Linked DNA regions of Homo sapiens: region 2 is linked to region 1. The links are contacts of gene promoters, found by promoter capture Hi-C in blood cells and fetal thymus (Javierre and others, 2016). All regions are on one chromosome and are shown on one strand. The core of a region is centred on a gene start or on the middle of the fragment in contact, and the rest is flanking DNA. Distances in the headings are between cores, read along the strand shown.

Evidence for each region. The method cuts DNA at HindIII sites, captures the fragments that hold promoters and counts their contacts. A CHiCAGO score of 5 or more calls a contact.
Region 2: a contact is called between a fragment that was not itself captured here and the fragment with the promoter of DANT1 in region 1, in 4 of 17 cell types (erythroblasts, megakaryocytes, fetal thymus and 1 more). The highest score is 8.3, in erythroblasts.

What each region holds. Positions count from the first base shown.
Region 1 is chrX:115,839,411-115,842,753 of GRCh38, reverse strand. DANT1 (DXZ4 associated non-coding transcript 1, proximal) reads right to left here and starts at 1,790. Exons shown (of 2, transcript NR_147173.1): 1 at 1,676-1,790. It overlaps DANT2 (DXZ4 associated non-coding transcript 2, distal), which reads left to right. Exons shown (of 2, transcript NR_132337.1): 2 at 2,174-2,358. RefSeq lists enhancers at 878-1,476, 1,477-2,076. The HindIII fragment of the contact is 4,420 bases long and covers 1-2,086 here.
Region 2 is chrX:115,331,235-115,334,796 of GRCh38, reverse strand. No RefSeq gene overlaps it. Among named protein-coding and RNA genes, the nearest start is that of LUZP4, 43 kb to the right of the region's middle. The HindIII fragment of the contact is 1,596 bases long and covers 910-2,505 here.

The DNA.
Region 1 (3,343 bases), core at 541-3,040:
AGCTACTTTGGAGGATGTGTTTGGAGGATTGCTGGAGGCCAGAAAGTTGAGGCTGTAGTGAGTCTTGAAGGTGCCACAGCATTCCAGCCTGGGTGACAGAGGAAGACTCCCTATCAAGAAAGGAGGAAAGAATCAGAGAAGGGAAGAGAAAAGAAAGCCAAACTTTTGCCTCAGTATCAGTAACAAGAAACATATGCACATACAAATACACACACACACTGAGCACTGCCCTCTAGAAATAACCAATGTAATTGTGTTTTCTTTCCTTTTTGACTCTTTGTCTACATAATTTGTCCAACTTGTATCGATATTTTGTATTATTATGACTATCTTCTATCATCTTTGATACCTTAAATTATTTCTTTATAATCTTCTTTTTATTTCATTAATAATCACGGCCATTTCAAATCCTATTTTACAGAACTGTAGAAAGATGAAAATGTGAAAGCCCTGAAATTTTTGTTGTTTGAGACGGAATCTCACTCTGTCACCAGGGCTGGAGTGCATTGGCAGGTTATCATCTCGCTGCAACCTCCCCCTCCCGGGTTCAAGCGATTTTTCTGCCTCAGTTTCCCGAGTATCTGGGATTAGAGGCACCCGCCACTACACCCAGCTATTTTTTTGTATTTTTAGTAGAGACGGGGTTTCACCATGTTGGCCAGGCTAGTCTCGAACTCCTGACCCTGTGATTCGCCCGCCTTGGCCTCCCAAAGTCCAGGGATTAAATGTGTGAGCCACCTCGCCCAGGCAAGTCCCTGAAAATTTTGAGGGCTTGTCCTTCCACGTTGTTAAGTGCATATATGGAAATGAAGTATATTGCCGTTTTTCTTTCTTTTTTTAAAAGAAGGGCTCTGGCTCTGATGCCCAAGATGGAGTGCAATGGAGCAATCCCAGTTCACTGCAGTCGCAAAGTCCTGGGCACAAGCAATCCTCCCGCCCCAGCCTCCAGAGTAGCTGGAACTACAGGCCCGCGGCATCATGCGTGGCTAATTTTTGTTTAGAGACGGCGTTTCACCATGTTGGCCAGGCTGGACTCGAACTCCTGGTCTCAAGTGATTCTCCCGCCTTAGTCTTCCAAGGTGCTGGGATTACAGGCGTGAGCCACTGCGCCCGGCCTGAAGCTGTATTTCTTTTTGTTCAATTATTCGTTAGAGGAAATGTTTCTTCTACAGTTTTACATTACGGGGAGCCCTGCCTGTGGGCAGGGCAGCCACGTGGTTTAACAACCACTCAATCTAAACCGAACGAGAGCGCACACCTCCTCAGCCATGTAGGTGGGGAGAACACCAGTGGGGCGAAGAAATCTGCAGGCGCACCCTTCTCCCTCTGCCCGCCCTGCCACAGGAGACGCTTCCAGGCTCCCGACGGGGAAGGCCAGAAAGGCTCTACTAGAAGGACCTCCCTACACTTGCCAGAACTAAAACTTAGGCAGCGGCAAAAACTCGGCGTCCAAAACGCGCCCGAAAGCCCTCCGATGCCTGCAGGACGCTGGAGCCAGCTCGGCTGCAGCCGCCATTGCACAAGGTCGCGCGCCCGGCACTGGCTGCCCAGAAGCCGGAGGGCAGGGAAGGTCCTCTGCACCAGAAAGGCTGCCCATGGCACAAACCCTGATCTCGTGTCCTGTGTCAAGGAAAGGAAAGGCAAATAAAGGAAAGAAAAGGCGAAGGAGACCTACCTGATTGAGGCCACGCGCCAACGGGAAAGGCCCAGTCCGCTCTACGTCCCGCAGTCGCACCTCAGATATGGGGTAGGATGCCCCCTCCCCATTCCTGGGAGGTGAGGGCTGAAAGAATCCGGGGAGGGGAAGGGAGAGGAATCCGGTCTTCCTAGAGCCGGCTCCGCCCAGGGTAGGAGTGGGGTGTCCTCAGCCTGCTCCTGGTGCAAGAAGGGGCGGAGAGAGGCAGCTTTGGGAAAGTTGGGTGGGAAACCTCTTGTCTTAGCTAATTGCTGAGGAGTACCTATTTGTCCCATTTGTTTCCTTTGAGTAAGGTCTTCGCTGGCAAGAGGGCAAAGGAGACTGATGTATCGAGAAAATGAAAAGTTTACTGTTTAACATTCACAAAACGGTTTAGAGGAAAAAGAAGCTTAAGCAAGTACACTTTCAGGCGATGTTATAAGTTTGTATCATCTGTATGCCTGACGTTATTGAAAGCTTCAATTGTTCCCTCCCCAGGTGAGAGGCGTCTTCCCAAGACCAGACACTGCCGGTGCCCTGTCACCTCCCACTTTTTTTCTGGAACTGCTAGGGGCCCAGCGCTGCTTCTGCAGCCTTCCAGGGGATGCTGCTGGTGGCGCGTATGCCGCCTAGGTGGGTGGGGATGTGCTGAGGCCGAAGGAGTGACAGCGACTCGCAGGTTTCCCCTGCCTGACCAGTCCTCTGATTGATATTTTCTTTTGAAAAAAGGGACTTGCGGCCGGGCGCGGTGGCTCACGCCTGTAATCCAACACTTTGGGAGGCCGAGGCGGGTGGATCACCTGAAGTCGGGAGTTCGAGACCAGCCTGACCAACATGGAGAAACCCTGTCTCTATTGAAAATACAAAATTAGCCGGGCTTGGTGGCGAATGCCTGTAATCCCAGCTACTCAGGAGGCCTAGGCAGGAGAATCGCTTGAACCTGGGAGGCGGAGGTTGTGGTGAGTCGAGATCGCGCCATTGCACTCCAGCTTGGGCAACAAGAACAAAACTCCGTCTCAAAAAAAAAAAAAAAAAAAAAAAGGGACTTGCTGCTCTTGCAGAATGGAGACACCTGTAGCGTATTAAGGAAAATGAAGATAATCTGTTGATGACAGTACTCTGAGGAGTGTTAACTTGGGGCATGCATCCTCCCAGCACCTTGTTCCCTAAGGGGAGGGGAGATGCAAATAAAGGTCCTTTAAAAATAATAGCCTGGTGAGTTCCCAAGGCTCATGGGAATCATGCAAGCTATTCGGGTTGCTTAAAAACTTGACTGTGAAGATGTTGTGGAATTTTTTTTTTCTCTTCACAATGTAGTCCTTGATTGGTTTTTGGGAGAATTTTTTTTTTCACAAATGGAAACGTGTTTTCAGTGGGAACCAAAGTCATTCCTGCCCAGGTACACTCTCCAGTGAACTCACCTTAAAAGAGACACTTAAAAAGAAATCTAAGGCCTCTGAGGGCACTACAACTGGTCTTTGACCAGCTCCAACTTCTCAGAATTTCCTGGCTCCATTTCACTCCTCACCAACTGACGTTCACACTCTCAGTCCGCCACCCCCACCCCAAGACCACCTGCTGCCAGATACTCCCAGACCTTTTCTCTTACTCATTCCCTTGCGGTTTGGGCAGAGGTGGGTGGGAATTACCAGGAGGTGGGGGGAGGAG
Region 2 (3,562 bases), core at 458-2,957, 510 kb after region 1:
TCACTTTGTCACCCAGGCTGGAGTGCAGTGGAGCGATCTCAGCTCACTGCAGCCTCAACCTCCTGGGCTCAAGCGATCCTCCTGTCTCAGCCTCCCAAGTAGTTGGGACTACAGGCGCATGCCACCACGCATGGCTAATTTTTGTATTTTTTGTAGAGACGGGTTTCACCTTGTTGCCCAGGCTTGTCTTGAGCTCATGAGGTTAAGCCATCCACCTGCCTCGGCCCCACAAAGTGCTAGGATTACATGCGTGAGCCATCCCGCCCGGCCCCTTAACTATTTCTTAAACTCTTTGTGCCTGCCACCATGTCTTTAGCATAAAGTGGAACATAAATCCAAAAAAAATCATGTGCTTCACTATATTAAGTTTTTAAAAGCAGCATTTTACGGTGTTTAGTTACGAGTACTAGGATATCCGGGAGCTATGCTACCCAGTCACTGGGCACTTTTATCCTGGATTTAACTGAGGAAAAATTTTACAGAGGGCACGAGATTTGACCTGGATCTCACAGGATGGGAAGGAGCTAGACAGGATGAAAGGAATGAAGTGGGCATTTCCAGGAGTGGAATGGTGGCAATCAGATCCAGTGGCAGGACAATACGTAATGTGAACTGCATATGTAAGTTACATGGTAAGTCTCTGCTCGCACTTCCAAAAACCCCCCAGAAAATCAGTTATAACAAAGAGGGGAAACCATGGATTACCTTTTCTGCATTAGTTGTTTTGGAGAGAATTTGCATTGCAGTAGGATATCTACCACTCAGGAAGGTGAGAATTGGGGATGGGGGTGGGAATAAGATGTGAGGTGACACCAAAGAGGTGAATATCAGATCCACATATCCATCTGTCTATCTGAATGGGCATGTGTTTAATGATTATCTCATCCCAGGGGGAGGAGGGAAGAAGCTTCTCTAGCTATTCTGTTCAGGGCCTGACCACCCCCTCCCATGCCCAGGAGGCATTCACAAATGAAGGCTCGAAGTTTAACCGTTTGAGGAACTACCAGACTGTTTTCCAAAGCAGCGGCACCATTTTACAATCTCACTAGCAATGTATGAGGGTTTCAGTTTCTCTGCATCCTCCCTGACACTTGTTATTATCTGCCTAGTGGATGTGACGTGTTATCTCATTGTGGTTTGGTTTACATTTCCCCCTTCCCAGGGCTAATGATGTTGAATATCTTTCCACGTACTGATTTCCAAATAGCTCTTGATGGCTGATTGTAGGCATTTATTCACAACTCTGGTAACACAGTCACCATATGACCCAGAAATTCGACTCCCATATATATACCCAAGAAAATTTAAAACATATGTTTACACAAAAAAAATTATACAGGAATGTTCACAGTAGTATTATTCATAACAACTAAAAAGAGGAAACAGTCCAAATGTCCATCAATTAATGAATGGACAAACAAAAGTGGTATATTCATACAATGGAACATTATTCAGCCGTAAAAAGGAATGAAGTACTGATACATGCTACAAAGTGGATGAACTTTAGAAACGTCACACTAGGTGAAAGAAGTCAGGAACAAAAGGGCACACGATTCCACTTATATGAAATATCCAGAATAGGAAGATCCAGAGAAATGAAAAGTAGAATGGTTGTTACCAGAGCCTGAAAGGAGGATGAATGGGGAGTAACTTCTTAATTGGTGTGGGGTTTTATTTTGTAGTGATTGATGGAAATGTTTTGGAACAAGATGTGCGCCACTGAGTTGTTTACTTTAAAATGGTTAATTTTAGCTCAAGGAGCCAGTTGGAACCGGCTCCAGCACACCACTGCCTGAAGATTTTGCCCTCTTAAGTCAGAAAGATCTTACTGTTTATGCCTTATGATAGTCACATGCCACCACTGAGAAAATGAGTACCGAAATGACTAGCACTTTGAATGGGAAGGGGGCGAACTCCTGGAGGGCAAAAATTCAATATCTCAAATATATTATCCTATCACCTCTCTGTCTACCTCTCTATCTACCTTCTTACTCACCTTTATTGAATACTGAATTTTCCCAACAGTTTTATTTATGGGGAGATTGAGAACTAGAAATAACTAAGATCATACACGTCTAGGAAGTGGCAGAGGTGGGATTTAAACTTTGGTCCACCTCAGTCTGTGTTCTTACATTTAAATGGAAGCCTCGGGGAGCCATGGGAGTGGTACATAGCCATGTTCCTTGGGTACCCTTAAGCTATGGGGAAACTGCAACACTAAGTATGGCTGCTTCCTAAAGACTTCAGTCCCAGTTCAGAACTGGTGGCTTTGGAGCATTCTGAGGAACTGTGGGGCCGTGGAACTGCCTAGCTGTCAGAAATGATTTAGTCAGAACCATGGGGCTCTACCTGATCTGAGGCTTCTTTTGCCATCCCTTTCAGAAAATCCAAAGAGGAATTTAAATATTTGGGGGTTTTCGTAGGGAGCTGAGATGCATATTGCTTCCAGGTACCTTTAGGGCCATCGTTCCTAAAGACCTCACTTACCAGATGAAGAAACAAGCTTATAGAGGGGAAATGACTTCCCTAAGATCACACAGCTGATTCAGTCAAGCATCACCAGTAGATGAAGAAGTAACTGGAAGAAATTTGTCCTCATCCTCAACCTCTCCATTTTCCATTCCATCTTTTTTAATGTTCCTTCCTTGGTATCTCAATAAGATATACTCTTAAAAAAACTTTATTATATTTATTATATAATTTCATATACTGTATATTATTTATTTATAAATTTCTTGTTTTTTTCTTTTTCTTTTTTTTTTTTTTTTTTGAGGCAGGGTGTCACTCCATAACTCAGGCTGTAGTGCAGTGGCATGATCTCGGCTCACTGCAGCCTCTGCCTCCCTGGCTCAAGCAATCCTCCCATCTCAGCCTCCCGAGTACCTGGGACTGCGGCTGCCTCATCATGCCCAGCTAATATTTATTTATAAATTATACATAATTTATATATTTTGCTGAATGGGTGATTGATTTCTAAAATATTTTAAAGCGAGCCCCAGACAGCGTACTATTGCAAGGTATATATTCATAAAAAAAAGCAGTATGATATATATAATAGCAGAACCTAAATAAACATAAAGCCTACAGTGGGCTGAAGGTAGGAGACCTAGGCCTTGTTTCATTTAGCTCTGCCACTAAGTAGCTATCTAATCATGGGAAAGTTGTTTAAGCCCTTAGTCCCAGATTTATTTCCTTAAAATCAAAATAAAACTATATTTTATTACGATTTACGACACTAAAATTCTATGACAACTCATGGCCAGACACGGTGGCTTACGCCTGTAATCCCAGCACTTTGGGAGGCCAAGGTGGGCAGATCCACTGAGGTCAGGAGTTCAAGACCAGCCTGGCCAGCATGGTGAAACCTCGTCTCTACTAAAAATGCAAAAATTAGCCTCGTGCTGTGGCACGAGCCTGTAGTCCCAGCTACTTGGGAGGCTGAGGCACAAGAATCGCTTGAACCCGGGAGGTGGAGGTTGCAGTGAGCCGAGATCATGCCACTGCACTCCAGCCTGGGGGACAGAGCAAGACCTTGTCTCAAAAACAAAACAAAACACAAAAA